2 separate regions of the Homo sapiens genome follow, and region 1 is linked to region 2. Evidence: promoter capture Hi-C in 16 types of primary human blood cells and fetal thymus (Javierre and others, 2016). All regions are on one chromosome and are shown on one strand. The core of a region is centred on a gene start or on the middle of the fragment in contact, and the rest is flanking DNA. Distances in the headings are between cores, read along the strand shown. Region 1 overlaps LOC105374329 (a long non-coding RNA gene). Region 2 holds the start of ADCY3 (adenylate cyclase 3).

Evidence for each region. The method cuts DNA at HindIII sites, captures the fragments that hold promoters and counts their contacts. A CHiCAGO score of 5 or more calls a contact.
Region 1: a contact is called between a fragment that was not itself captured here and the fragment with the promoter of ADCY3 in region 2, in 1 of 17 cell types (endothelial precursors). The highest score is 5.5, in endothelial precursors.

Annotation. Positions count from the first base shown.
Region 1 is chr2:24,425,954-24,433,389 of GRCh38, forward strand. The region is part of intron 2 of LOC105374329 (a long non-coding RNA gene); the gene reads left to right. Among named protein-coding and RNA genes, the nearest start is that of NCOA1, 62 kb to the right of the region's middle. The HindIII fragment of the contact is 3,708 bases long and covers 3,728-7,435 here.
Region 2 is chr2:24,915,462-24,922,709 of GRCh38, forward strand. It overlaps ADCY3 (adenylate cyclase 3), which reads right to left and starts at 4,776. Exons shown (of 22, transcript NM_004036.5): 1 at 4,222-4,776; 2 at 2,852-3,723. The coding sequence starts at 3,526. LOC124907742 (a long non-coding RNA gene) reads left to right here and starts at 4,883. Exons shown (of 2, transcript XR_007086246.1): 1 at 4,883-5,111; 2 at 5,537-5,997. RefSeq lists an enhancer at 1,509-1,758 and silencers at 4,161-4,890, 4,921-4,980, 5,021-5,230, 5,241-5,330. The HindIII fragment of the contact is 7,828 bases long and covers 505-7,248 here.

The DNA of each region.
Region 1 (7,436 bases), core at 4,332-6,831, 490 kb before region 2:
CCTTGACCTCGCAAAGAAAAAAACCTAGTGTCTCTTGTGTCTGCATTTCAATCAATCATCATGGAATGAGGGCAGAGAAGGATAATTATACTCCTTAAAGAGTAATTCAACTAAACTTGGTGTCTGTGTTTATGAACATCATGTAGGTAAGTGTCAGCTTCCTCAGAAAGGCATTTTCCCAATGGAAAAAGCTGTAGACTGAAGGGGAAGACTTGGATCTTGATTCTGAGACTTGTACATGTTTGACCTTGAATATGCCACCAAATGTCCCCAAGACTCAGTGTATTCTGTAGAAATCAATTGTGAAAATATAATGGGCACACGGACTAGTGCATTCATTCAGGACAGCAATCCAACCTTCCCCAGAGAAGCTGAGTGACAGGAGCCTTTTTGGCCCTGCAGCCCCCAAGAGAAGCTCACCTCAGGCCCAAAAGTTCACCTTTATGAGGATGTTCATTGCATGTAATCCCAGCACTCTGGGAGGCTGAGGTGGGTGAACCACTTGAGGCCAGGAGTTCGAGACCAGCCTGGCTAACATGATGAAACCCCGTCTCTACTAAAAATACAAAAATTAGCTGGGCGTCGTGGTGCACACCTGTAGTCCCAGCTACTTGGGAGGCTGAGGCAGGAGAATCACTTGAACCTGGGAGGCAGAGGTTGTAGTGAGCCGAGATTGTACCCACTGCACTCCAGCCTAGGCAACAGAGCAAGACTCCGTCTCCAAAAAAAAAGAAAAAAAAAAAAAGTGCGCATCAAGCTAGTATCCATCTCTAGGGAAATGAATAACTAAAATATGAAGGGTCCTTATCACAAAACACTCTGTAGCAATTAGAAGTGATGAATTAGATATACGGAGCAACATGGATGAACTACAATTCATAGTACGGTGTGAATAAATGAGAGATAGAACAATATCATGTTGGCTAGTTAAAATCACATTCATGGAACAACCCACGTATCTATCAAAGATAAATAACTCTCTCTGAGGACATATTCCAAACATACTAGAGAGGATGCCTATGGAAGTGAAGATTGAGGAAATGGCAATATAAAATACGAGAGGGGCCCCTTGTCCAGAACCAATGACAAGAATGTGGCAAGCAAACACCTCTGGCCTAACCAGAAGCACAGCAAAAACTGTCCTTCCTCACCCCCTCAGAGTGGGAATTGCTTCACCCCTTCTGCTTGCTATCACGGAGTTTCTTGTTTTTAAACTGTTCTCTGGGAGTCCCTGGCCATGGCTTTTCCTACACTCTGTTAAGTGATACCATCGATAAAACTTAGAGCTCATGTACAGTTTGCAAATATCCTTTTGTTCTTTAGATTTTCCTAGTCAAATTAAGTATTAGATGTGGATATGAAGTAATGAGTTTTTAAGCTTCTTCCAAATGAATGTTATTTCTTTCAAAGCAGTCATAGTTTCCAGCAGTTCTGCCAAAGCTTGAAACATTTTTGGAACTGTGTGTGTGTGTGTCTGTGTGTGTGCATGCACATTCACATTGTGTGTGCATGTGTGTGTGTGTACAATGTGCTTAAAGACCAATCAAACTTTATATTATTTTCTTTTTTTTGAGACAGTCTCTGTCACCCAGGCTGGAGTGCAGTGGCGCCATCTCGGCTCACTGTAAGCTCCGCCTCCCAGGTTCACACCATTCTCCTGTGTCAGCCTCCCAAGTAGCTGGAACTACAGGCACCCACCACCACGCCTGGCTAATTTTTTGTATTTTTAGTAGAGACGGGGTTTCACCGTGTTAGCCAGGATGGTCTTGATCTCCTGACTTTGTGGTCCGCCCGCCTTGGCCTCCCAAAGTGCTGGGATTACAGGCGTGAGCCACCACGCCCAGCCTCAAACTTTGTATTATTTTCAAATCTAGTCTTACATTACCTGATCACTGCCCACCTAGGCAATCTCATCTCATCCTCTTCTCCCCATTTTGCCCACAGTGTTCCAGGCACTCCTGGCTTCTTTTAGTTTCTCCAGTGTGCACAATGCATTCTTGCTGGGGGTAGCTGTTCCATTTGTCTGAGATGCTCATCCTTCTGGTCTTCCTTCTCAAGGTGGGCTCCTTTCTGTTGCACAGGTCTTACTTAAATGTCACATCCTTAGAGAAGCTTTCTCTGACCACCCAAACCAAAGAACCATCTAAGGACTTGCTATCTCACCATCCTGCTTTTAATTTTTCCACTGTCACCACTATCAGATATTTGCTTGTTTAATGACTGTACCCCCAATTTAAATAAAAGTCACATATTCTCACGGGGCTCAGTGGCTCACGCCTGTAATCCCAGCACTTTGGGAGGCCGAGGCATGCGGATGACTTGAGACGAGGAGTTGGAGACCAGCTTGCCAACTTGGTGAGACCCTGTCTCCACTAAAAGAACTACAAAATTATCTGGGCATGGTGGCACGCACCTGTAATCCCAGCTACTCAGGAGGCTGAGGCAGGAGAATCACTTGAGGTTGCAGTGAGCCGAGATCATGCCATTGCACTCCAACCTAGGCAACAGAATGAAACTCCGCCTCTTAAAAAAAAAAACACATATTCTCATGGCCAAGAAAGGTGCCTGCTACATGATAGGTGCTATGAGAATGTTTGTTGAGCACACTGGAGTATGAGGAACTCAGATCTCTGCCCCTGAGGTCCAAAAAATAAGCAACTTAAGTATAAGAGGTTATTGTAGATTTTCTCCTTTGTTAATTGGCTTATTCTTTTATTACATCACTTCATTGCTAACTTTGCGTCACATATCCCTATTTATTTATTTATTTATTTATTTATTTATTTATTTATTTATTTTTTGAGACAGAGTCTCACTCTGTCACCCAGGCTGGAGTACAGTGGCACGATCTTGGCCCACTGCAGCCTCCTCCTCCCGGGTTCAAGCGATTCTCCTGCCTCAGCCTCCCAAGTACAAGTGCGTGCTGCCATGCCCAGCTAATTTTTTGTATTTTTAGTAGAGACTGGCTTTCACCGTGTTAGCCAGGATGGTCTCAAATCTCCTGACCTCATGATCTGCCTGCCTCGGCCTCCCAAAGTGCTGGGATTACAGGTGTGAGCCACGGCGCCCGGCATACATATCCCTATTTATAAAGTATCTGTTTTTCCTACTAAGCTATGGGCCTCTGGAAAGAAAGAACTATGTTTTAAATTTTTCATATTCCCTAGAGGATTTAGCATAAAACTTTGATATTCTGAATATTAGATATATATTGTTATCAGATTGAACGGAATCTGATTGGTATGAATAAGTGTGTTTGCGTAAGTGTGTGTGTGTGTGCGCGCATTACAGGTATAGTGAGAGACAGACAAGCAGAGAAAACACATTTGTATGGGCCTGTGTGGGTACATTTTGTGCCAGTGATTTTTAGACTGATTTTGAGGGTCTGCTTACATTTAGAAAGTACAAATTTGGACAGAGATCAAGTTTCTGGGCCATGTTGTCATAACAACCTAAGTTCTGCAGGACCTAAAATAACTCAGACAAAACGTGATAAGGTCATGGACTTAAGATGGTCTATACCCAATGTACATGATACTCTGCTCTTTTTTACGTGAAGAACAGTGACATAAAGGAGTTAAAGGGGGATAAGGCCACAAAAACCATGGTTACCCCAATCTTTAACTGGAGTAGGCTGAACTTCTTGAGGACTGACCCCGTGTCCTGCTGATTTTTCTCTGCAGTGACTAACACAGTGCATCATAATGCATAGGGAACACTTAACGAAAGCTTGCTAAGTGATGGACTAAATGAAAAACTGAAGAAATGAAAAGTAATGAGATTGATTCTTTTATATGACTCATGAATTGGCTCAGAAGCCATTGGCTCCGAAGAAACTCAGTTGAAGAGTTCCAAAAACGCAGCATCGTTGACCTAAGTGTGTGGTCTCTATAGAACACATTTTCAGCCGTAGAATGTGGCATTGCTATCCATCAAGTCGCCATCTTTCAGACTCTCAGGCTAGAAACTTTAGAAGCTGTCATGAGTCATCCACCGTTCTTCCCTTCCACATCTAAGCAGTCATTAAGTCCTGCCAGGTTTACCTCAGGAATAGCCTCAGCCCACAGTGCCTCCTTGTCTAATATCTAGACAATAGATGCTAGTCTCTCCCGTTTGCAATCAATCCTTCCCCAACTCCCCAAAGTTATTCCCCTGTAACCAGTATATTAAACAAGATGGATTTGGGATGGCTCAAACAGAAAGCACTTGTCCTATCTTATAACTATGCTGTGGTTTGAATGTGTCCCCCGAAATTCATATGTTGGAAATTTAATCCCCAATGCAATGGTGTTGAGAGGTGGGATCTTTAAGCCGTGATTAGGTCATGAGGGCTCTGTTTTCACTGATGGTTTAAGGTCATTACTGAGGGAGTGGGTTTGTTACTGCCAGAGTTGGTTCCTGATAAAGGGATGATTTCAGCCCTCTCCCCTCCCCTCATTGCCTCCTTCTCCCCTCTCCTCTCTCTCTCCTTCCCTCTCTTCCTCTCTTTCATGTGCATGCATGGGTCCATGCTGTCTTGCCCTTCCACCTTTTGCCATGGGATGATGCGGCAAGAAGGTCCCTGGTAGGCTGGATGTGTTGGTTCACACCTGTAATCCCAGCACTTTGGGAGGATGAGGTGGGAGGATCTCTTAGCCCAGGAGTTTGAGAGCAGCTTGGGCAACAATAGTGAGACCTCATCTCTACAAAAAATAAAAAAATTAGCTGAGTGTGGTGGCATGTGCTTGTAGTCCGAGCTACTGTGGAGGCTGAGGTGGAAGAATTGCTTGAGCCCCGGAGGTCCAGGCCACAGTGAGCCATTATTGCACCACTGCACTCCAGCCTGGGCAACAGAGCAAGACCCAGTCTCAAAAAAAAAAAAAAAAAAAAGCAAGAGACTGGGTGTGATGGCTCATGCCTGTAATCCCAGCACTTTGGGAGGCTGAGTTGGGTGGATCACAAGGTCAGGAGTTCAAGATCAGCCTGACCAATATGGTGAAACCCCATCTCTACTAAAAAATACAAAAATTAGCCGGGTGTGGTAGCAGGGGCCTGTAAGTCCAGCTACTCGACTGAGCCTGGAGAATTGCAGATTGCGCCACTGCACTCCAGCCTGGGTGGCAGAGTGAGACTCTGTCTCAAAAAAAGAAAGAAAGAAGAAGGTTATCTGATCAATGTGGGCCCCTTGGACTTAGTAGCCTCCAGAACTGTAAGAAATAAATCTCTGCTCTTTAGTAATTATTGTTTCAGATGCTCTGTTAGAGTAGCACAAAATGGATTGAGAAAGAATGTCCCTACTCTCTCAAATCTTTCTTCCCTACCCATCCATGGTTGTCTCTTTTTTCTTTTGAGACAGGGTCTCGCTCTGTCATGCAGGCTGGAGTGCAGTGGTGCAATCATGACTCACTGTAGCTTTGACCTCCTAGGCTCTGCTGAGCCTCTCACCTCAACCTCCCAAGTAGCTGGGACCACAGGCATGCACCACCACACCCAGCTAATTTTTGTATTTTTTTGTAAAGACAGGGTTTCCTCATTTTACTCAGGCTGGTCTCCAACTCCACGGCCCAAGTGATCTGCCCACCTCGGCCTCCCAAAGTGCTGGGATTACAGGCGTGAGACATGGCACCCAGCCCCTACCCATGGTTTTCCGTTTATCATCAGGTATTGAAAAGTTCAGTCCAATCAAATATCAAAATTTTAATTTCTTATCCAAATTAAAGTTCTCCCTGTCACTAGTGTGAGCAAACTTAGGCTTGCAAGCATATAGGGAAGAAGGGGGTTCCAGTCATTGTCTTCTCTTTGTTTCTCCTCCTCTTGCATTAGCTGGGCCCAGGAGAGAGGGGATTAAATAAACAGAGGCCTTCAGTGGCTCTTGAGTTGTAATCACAGCACCCTTGGTAAGTAGCAGATCTAACGGGTATTTCTCTAGTGAGGTGCTTTTGAGAATTTGTTTAGAGACCCTTCCTCCTTTGGCCCTCCTACTAAGCATTCCCTTGACTTGGACAGTGCCCATTTTAGCTAGGCTCTTCCATTCTCCCCTTTATGACTTGAATTCCAGTTGACCATCCCGCATAGTGTTTCTTATGTTGGAATCATCCAGAAGGTCCTCTTAGATAGGGTCTGTAAGATGACTCAAGTCCAGCTTTCTTCCTCATGTCCCCCTGGCACAAACTTCCCCACTGTTTCTGCAAGTGTGGCTTGTTCCTTCTGGGTCCCCTGGCTTTGCTCTACTGCCACCCACCAGCCTTCCACTCAAGAACTTTTTCCACTGATATCAGAACGCAGCCTCTCTGTCCCTTCTCTTAGGAAGCCTGGAGATGGGTGAAGGTCTAACCATGGCAGAACTGGCACAAGGCCACTCTCTTTGCAAGTCCTGCCTGGACAGTCTTGTACCTCACTTAGGATGTGGAGGAGGGACTGAAACCTATTGTTCTCAGTTTTGAAGCCTCAGCCAAAACTCTGAGAAAGGAAAAGCCCTATTTTAACATGCTGTTACATTCCTTTAAAAACATCACATATTGTTTTGTTTTGTTTTAATTAACTGTTCCAAGTTTTTTCTTTTCTTTTCTTTTTCTTTCTTTCTTTCTTTTTTTTTTTTTTTTGAGATGGAGTTTCGCTCTTGTTGCCCAGGCTGCAATGCAATGGCGCAATATTAGCTCACTACAACCTCCACCTTCCGGGTTCAAGTAATTCTCCTGCCTCAGCCTCCTGAGTAGGTGGGATTACAGGCACGCGCCAACAGGACGTGCGTCTAGCTAATTGTTGTATTTTTAGTAGAGACAGGGTTTCGCCACGTTGGCCAGGCTGGTCTCGAACTCCTGACCTCAGGTGATCCACCCACCTTGGCTTCCCAAAGTGCTAGGATTATAGGCGTGAGCCACTGTGCCTGGCCCTAACTGTTCCAAGTTTACAATGTTTGATTTTTGAAGTCCAGACTCAGAACAGACATCTAAGTGGATCACTGGACCCCCAGCATTTTGCAAATGAGGAAGTGAAACCCAAGGAAGTTCCCTGATTTATGGAAGATCAAACAGCTGGTAATGACTGAAACAGAACTTGATCCTAGATCTTTGGCTTCCAGATCTTACGTTCTTCCTACCACATTGTCCTGCCTGAAATGCCTCTCCTTAAAGGTACCAGAGACATTTGCTCCTGATAAAGCTACTTGTATGTAAGGGTCAACTGAAAATAATATAAACTTTTAATGATTTTCAAAAAGCCTAGAGCTGGGTGCACTGGTGTACGCCTGTAGTCCCAACTACTCAGGAAGCTGAGCACAGCCCAGGAGTTTGAATCCAGCCTGGGCAACATAGCACAACCCCATCTCTGTTTTTGTTTTTTTGTTTTGTTTTGTTTTGTTTTGTTTTGTTTTTTAATTAAAAAAAGCCTATGAACTAGATGCTGTGATTATGGTGATTATGGATGATTTTAATTTTTGGTTTATCTACGTTTTCTAA
Region 2 (7,248 bases), core at 3,526-6,025:
TCACTCCAGGGCTCAGGGGAGACCGCTGTCCCGGGTGTCCCTCCCCACAGCAACACAGGCTGCTGCAGCTTGTGTTTTTTGTTGTTTTTGTTTTTGTTTGATGGAGTCTCACTCTGTCGCCCAGGCTGGAGTGCAGTGGTGCGATCTCGGCTCACTACAATCTCTGCCTCCTAGGTTCAAGTGATTCTCCTGCCTCAGTCTCCTGTGTAGCTGGGATTATAAGCACGCCCCATCACACCTGGCTAATTTTTGTATTTTTAGTAGAGATGCGGTTTCGCCATGTTGGCCAGGCTGGTCTTGAACTCCTGACCTCAGGTGATCCGCCCGCCTCAGCCTGCCAAAGTTCTGGGATTACAGGCATGAGCCACCATGCCCGGCCCCATTTCCACCATCTTCAGAGGCCAAATGCCGGGATGCTGTGAGTTGAGGAAGACCCTGGTGGGTGGGCCTGGGAACCCAGGCACCTTTTAAAAAGTCACATTAGTCCCAAACCAGTGACTCAGAAGCTTCTGGAACACAGCCCACTGTAAGCTGGGGCCTCCTGCCTTCGATCTCAGGCTCCCAATCGGACCTTGAGAGCTCTCTGCCCCTCCTGCTCTGTTCCCAAAGCTGCCTCCCAGGCACTGCTTGCATGCCAAGGTCAGGCTCCCCTGGGATGCTAATATTTTTATTCTTGATTTCTATCTTTTTTTTTCTGTTTTCTAAGTTTTAGGGTTTTATGTCTTAGCAATACTCAAAGGAGAACAATCATGAGTTTAGAAGTGATCTCCGAGTAGCCACGTGGTGGGGCACCCAGGCCCCGGCCCAGCCCTGTGGCCATACCTTCTCAGTCCTTTTCCCTGGAAGCTCCAGGAGCCTCAAAATAAGCTCCTTGTCCACCTGAGGAGATGGAGCTAGAGAGACCAGTCATCCTCAGACCTCAGACCTTAGAACCTGGGATGCCTGGGCATGGTGGCTCACGCCTGTAATCCCAGCACTTTGGGAGGCCGAGGCGGGCGGATTATGAGGTCAAGAGATCGAGACTATCCTGGCCAACATGGTGAAACCTTGTCTCTACTAAAAATACAAAAATTAGCCAGGCGTGGAGGCGCGTGCCTGTCATCGCAGCTACTCAGGAGGCTAAGGCAGAAGAATAGCTTGAACCTGGGAGGCGGAGGTTGCAGTGAGCTGAGATCGCGCCATTGCACTCCAGCCTGGCAACAAAGCAAGACTCCGTCTCAAAAAAAAAAAGAACCTGGGACTGGCTAATGCATGGCCTGAAGAGATATGACTGGTGTTTCCACCTAGTCAATGACCAGAAACTCACAGCCCCCTCTACAGAGATTTGGGGTGGGGACGGCAGGGCAGCACATAGCCACTGTCTCCAGGAGGTGGGGTGGGAAGCAAAGCTCCTGCTCTCAGGCAGCTCTCAGTGCTCCAAGGAACATACACAAATGAGCCCTGGGCTGGGGGTCAATGCCTGGGCTCCCGTCCTGTTTCTGCCACCAAAGTGCTGGGTGACAGTGAACCAGTTATCACTCATCTCTGTTTCCTCCTCTGTAAAATGGGTAGTCTGGGCTAGATGCCCTGCCAGGCCCTGCCTATGTTAACATCCTCTACCCATTTCTAGAACAAATCAGCAGGATGAGACATGAGTGGAGAAATCAGCAGAGGAGTGGAAGATTCTGTCTGTCCACCCTGGGCCTGCACATAGCACCTGGTCTCCAGGACCCAGGCACTGACCTCCATGGCTGCTAGAGGCTCACGTCAGTCAGCAAGGATTCTGGGCACGCCCTGCCTCTCCTGACACCCAGAAGGTCACCGCTTCAGAGCTGACTCTACCCCAGCCCCACTAACCACAGAACAGAGCTGGCGTGGGAGTTAAGACATCTCTACCAGACAGAGCACTGCAGGGGCAGGAAGTGGGGGAGCCTCTCTTGACCATCATTGGCACGAGGCTGGCAGGCTGGGCACCAAACCCAGATGCAGACATCTCCGCCTCATTCTCTGGTCACCGGCTTGCTGGCTCCCCAGGGACACACACTGCCTACTGTCCCTCAGGTCCCCTGGTCTCTGCAGCCCCTGAGGGCCTGGCACTTGGTGGGAACACAATACTATAATAGTTAAGCTGAGGCCGAAATTCCACCCCTTCCAGTAGAAAGCGTGCTCCAGGACCAGCAGAATGCGTGCTTTAGGACCAGGAGACCCTACGTCACAGTGGCCGGCATGACTGTCCCCATTTGCATCCCCACACCACACCTTCAGTGGGGAGACCACCATTCTCCACTTCATAGAACTCCCCAGGCACCCCGAGCTCCCGGAGGCAGGAAATATGACAACTGCGTCTTCCCTCTGTGCAGCCCTTCACGTATCCTAATGCGCTTTCCCCCACATCTCCTGCAATCCTGACAACAACCGTGTCATGCAGGCAGAGCGGACGTTATCCCCATTTGACAAAGGGGCACTGAGTCCACACAGCTAGTCAGTGCTGGGGAGAGATGGGAATCAAGGAGCCCTCTTCCCAAGGGAGGTCCTCCTTGCCAGGGTCACTGACAGGGAATGGCCAGGACAATGCTGCCTCAAGACCAGCCCTGGGTGGGCCTTCCTGTCACACACTTAGACTGGGCACAGGTGAAGAGTGGCCCTGAGGCCCAATGCCCTGACATCCTCCTTTCCCTGGGGCCAAGCACAGGCAGACTCCGGGTAATGGCACAGGGGTGAAAAGGCAGGGACTAGGGAGAGAGGTGAGAGCCCCGGAGGCCCCCAGGACACATTTTGACTCAAAGGCAAAGCAAACAGCAACTCCAACAGGTCCCAAGTTGGTGAGAGCTGCAGGAGAGGACGCTGTGGGGGGACAGTGGGCAGGACTCACCTCCCGCAGCAGCTGCATCCCCTTGAGCTCCTCCTGCTGCTGCTGGGCCACGGTGACCCCCAGGACCAACGTGTGCACCACACAGGAGACCACGGAGATGATCACGATGGGGCTGAGGCTGAGGGGCAGCGTGATGAAGAAGGAGAAGACAAAGAAGACCTGCCAGCCCACCGTGTCACTAGCCGCGTGGGCACGCGCGAAGTTCAGGCCCAGGTAGGAGAAGATCTGGGCGGTTATGAGCAGCCACAGCACGTAGGGCAGCACTCTGCGGGTGACCCGGTCCGGGAGCAGCCCCTTTTTGCAGAGCACGAAGAGGATGATGTCCAACACCAGTCCAATTCCAGCCACGGCGAGGGAAGCCAGCTTGTCGCTGGAGAAGACCACAGCACACATGACCACCACGTAGCAGTCAAAGAGGGCTGCAAAGACCACCAGCACCAGCAGGGTCTCGTGGCGCTGCCTTTTGAAGTAGGTCTGGTAGAGGTTCTCCAAGGACTCCGGCACGAAAGTCAGCCGCATGAAGCGAGGCAGGCACAGGCAGGAGCCCGAGTTCCGGACCGAGATTTCATGGGTCCGGCCCACCCCGCGGTCAGGGTCGGAGGGCAGGCTGACGGAGTACTCGGCTGAGTACTCGGCCGAGTATTCGGGCTCGGAGAAGCCCTGGTTCCTCGGCATACTGGCTGGTGTCTGCTACTGGCCCTAGAGAAGTGGACTGGGAACGGAGGAAGAGCTCTGGACTGGGCCTCCTCTCAGGGCTCTCTGAGACCGGGGGAGGGCTGAGGGCCTCTTCTTGTCTGGGGCGGAGGGGAGGCCACCTCCAGCAGGAACGCAGAGCGGGTTTCCAGAGCACAGGTAGCACTGATCAGCTAGAACTGAAAAGGGCATTGCTGAGTAGAAGCACCTCTTCCCTCCTACCTTGCGGTTTCCCCATGACCCGCCCTAACCCTCATAAAAGGATCTCTGCTGCAAGAGCCTCCCAACCCAGGGCCTTCCCTGCCACCCCCGGCTCACACCACCGCCCACCGCAGGCACACTTAGTCCTGTCCACGCCAGACACTCAATTTCCTGTCCCTGGCTTGTGGAAGGGCCTAGCCGCCTTTCCATCCCTGGTAACCGGTTTCTCTCTGTCATCTCTTCTTTCTCAGTCCCCGACTTCCTCACCTAAATTCCCTCCAGGCCCAGTCCTTAGAAGCTGTAAATAAAATGTGCCGGAAAGAAATCAGGACCATCGTGGGGGATTCCTGAGCCTTCCTTCTGTTTACTTCCTTTTTCCACCAAACCCTTGGAGGCTCGGGCTCCGATCCGGCCCCCTTCCCACGCTCGGGGCGCTGTCTTCCCCCCCGGAAGCCTGGCCCTGCCCCTGCGTTTACCTGTGCGGGAACTCGGCCACCGCGTGCTCCGGGACGGTCCCCGCGCGGGCTGGGGCGGGAGAGCTCGGCGCGCCCGAGGGCTGCTCCCCGCAGAGCCGCGCCGCCCCGGCAGCGCCTCGGGGCCCGGCCGGAGCGCGATCTCCCGCCGTCAGGCCCGGGATCCGACCGGGAGAGGCGCAGGGCTGCCCCTCAGCATCCGCGGGCGCCCGGCCGCAGGGGGAAGGAGGAGGCGGCGACGAGGGCTGGGAGATCCGTGGGCGCCGGCCCAGCGCGCCCGCCCTGGGGCTGAGGCTCAGGGGCAGGGGCCGTGCGGGGGCCGGCAGGCGCGGGCGGCGGCGAGCGCGGCTCTCCGGACCCCTCCCCTGCACCCGCGGCGGCGGCGGCTGCTAGGGGCGCGCGCGGGGCCCTCCCCGGCGGGAGCGCGGGCCGAGCCCGGGGAAGCCCGCCAGCATCCTCTCGCCCGCCCGCGCCGAGCCGAGCCAGCCGAGTCCGGGCTCGGCGTGCTGCACAGCTATTCCCCGCGCGGCGCCGGCGGCTCCGGGGCCACGCGCGCTCCAGGCCCCGGGAGGCGGGAGGCGGGAGGCGGGAGGCGGGCGGGGCGGCCCCTCCCTCGCCCCAGTCTCCGCCCTCTCGGCGGCGCGTTCCGGAGTGGGGCGGCGAGGGAGGCGCCGGGCGGCGGTCCCAGGACCCGCGCGGGCGAGAGGTGGAGGGGCCCGGGCGGCCCCCGATCCGGCGCGGGCGGCGGGCTGGGGCGATGGCTGCGTGGAAGCGCGGGCGCGGGCGCGGGCGTGGGCGGTGGGCGGTGGGCGGCAGGGCTGGGGCGAATCCACCCCTTCCAGCGAGGAGGCCCGGTCTAGGAGGATGGAAGCCCGGGACGCGCCCGCCCGCAGGTGAGGCGCGCTCGGGGCACCCCGCCGCCCCCTCCTCCGCCGCGGCTTCCTTCCGGGCCGGCAGAGGCCAGGGCTCAGGTTTGGGGACCGCTCCGCCGCGGGGCACGTGGGGCCTAAGTATCCCCGCCCACCCCGGGAGCCCAGACTCCGGAGCGCCGGGCCTGAGCTTTCCGCAGAGGGGCTCGGCAGCGGAGCCCTGTCCTGCTCCCAGGAGGCGGGTGGCGGTGGCCCGGTGGGCACTACACACGTGGAACTGGAAGAGTTCCTGAGACCCTGCTTCGAAGAGATTTCCCGTGCACATTCTACCCGTTTGAGATGTGTTTGAGTTCACAAACTGTCCCTTAAAGATGCGAATGCTCCTTTGAATAGTTAAACCTATCAGTCTCTTACACCATAGTATAAATTATTTTCCTTGCATTTGACAGAACACCGTGCTAAGATCAACTACAGGCTTTGGGAATTTAAATAAAGGAAGAGGAAAGAGATAGAATGTTTTGGGACAAAAGGGACAAAAGCATGTGTGGGAAGGTAAGTGCTGAGGACAGCCAGCAGCAATAGGGGGTCATCTCCCCTGGGGAGAGCTGAAGGAATGAACAGAGGGGAGAGAAACTTGGCTATCCAGACCCTGGATGGAGCTGCCACCCCATGCCCCTGAGAGTTATCCGCGGGCACCCCTTCCAGAACCTCAGGCATCACCTTGCATCCCTCGGGGAATGGATCCATTAGAGAATCGATCCTGCCACTGCTGTTTCTACCGTTCCCTCACACTCTGTCTGAAAAGGCGCCACCTTCAGCCCATACTTCGCAGGGCTTTGATTCCAAAGGTAGGGGACCTAACATCAGATATAGGAGTTTGGTAATTTAAATAAAGCAAAACTTTGCCCCATTGTTTTATTTTATTTCTATTTTTTATTTTTTCGAGACTGAGTCTCACTCTGTCACCCAGGCTGGAGTGCAGTGTTGTGATCTCAGCTCACTGCAACCTCCACCACCCAGGTTCACGCAATTCTCCTGCCTCAGCCTCCTGAATACCTGGGATTGCAGGCACACACCACCAAGCCCGGGGTAATTTTTGTATTTTTAGTAGATGGGGTTTCACTATGTTGGCTAGGCTGGTCTTGAACTCCTGACCTCAAGTGATCCGCCCACCTCAGCCTCCCAAAGTGCTGGGATTACAGGGATGAGCCACTGCTCTGGGCTGCCCCATTGTTTTAATTTGCTGGAGGTTTTTGGGTTTTGGGGGGGATTTTTTTTGGAGGGAGTTATTTGTGGTTTGTTTTTTGTTTTTGTTTTTTAAAAAGGAAGGCATTTATTTATTTATTTATGAGACAGAGTCTCACTCTGTCGCCCAGGCTGGAGTGCAGTGGCCATCTCAGCTCACTGCAACCTCCGCCTCCTGGGTTCAAGCAGTTCTCCTGCCTCAGCCTCCCAAGTAGCTGGGATTATAGGCACCTGCCACCATGCCTGGCTAAATTTTGTATTTTTAGTAGAGACAGGGTTTCATCATGTTGGCCAGGTTGGTCTCGAACTCCTGACCTCAAGTGATCTGCCTGCCTCAGCCTCCCAAAGTGTTGGGAATACAGGTGTGAGCCATCATGCCTGGACTTTGCTGGAGGTTTAAACATTTATTTTGAATTGTCACATGATGTTAAAGAGGACATGACTTTTATGTTTTACAAAGGGAGATGTAATGTACGGCAAGGCGCAGTGGCTCATGCCTGTAATCCCAGCTCTTTGGGAGGCCGAGGCAGGCAGATCACTTGAGGTCAGGAGTTCGAGACCAGCCTGGCTGACATGGCAAAACCCTGTCTCTACCAAAAAATACAAAAATTAGCCGAGCGTGGTGGCGGGTGCCTGAAGTCCCAGCTGCTCAGGAGACTGAGGTGGGAGAATCGCCTGACCCTAGGAGGCAGAGGTTGCAGTGAGCCAAGATCGTACCACTGCACTCCAGCCTGGGCAACAGAATGAGACCCTATCTCAAAAAAAAGTGGGGGTTGGGGGAGAGATGTGCTAATGTTTTTTAAAAGGCTGATAAATCTTGTGCTTGGTCCTGCTTTGGCACAAGAGACACCATGTTGCACCCTCTGTGGGTCCCTTCCCCTTCCTTGGCATACATGCCAGCCCTGTGATTCTCAGT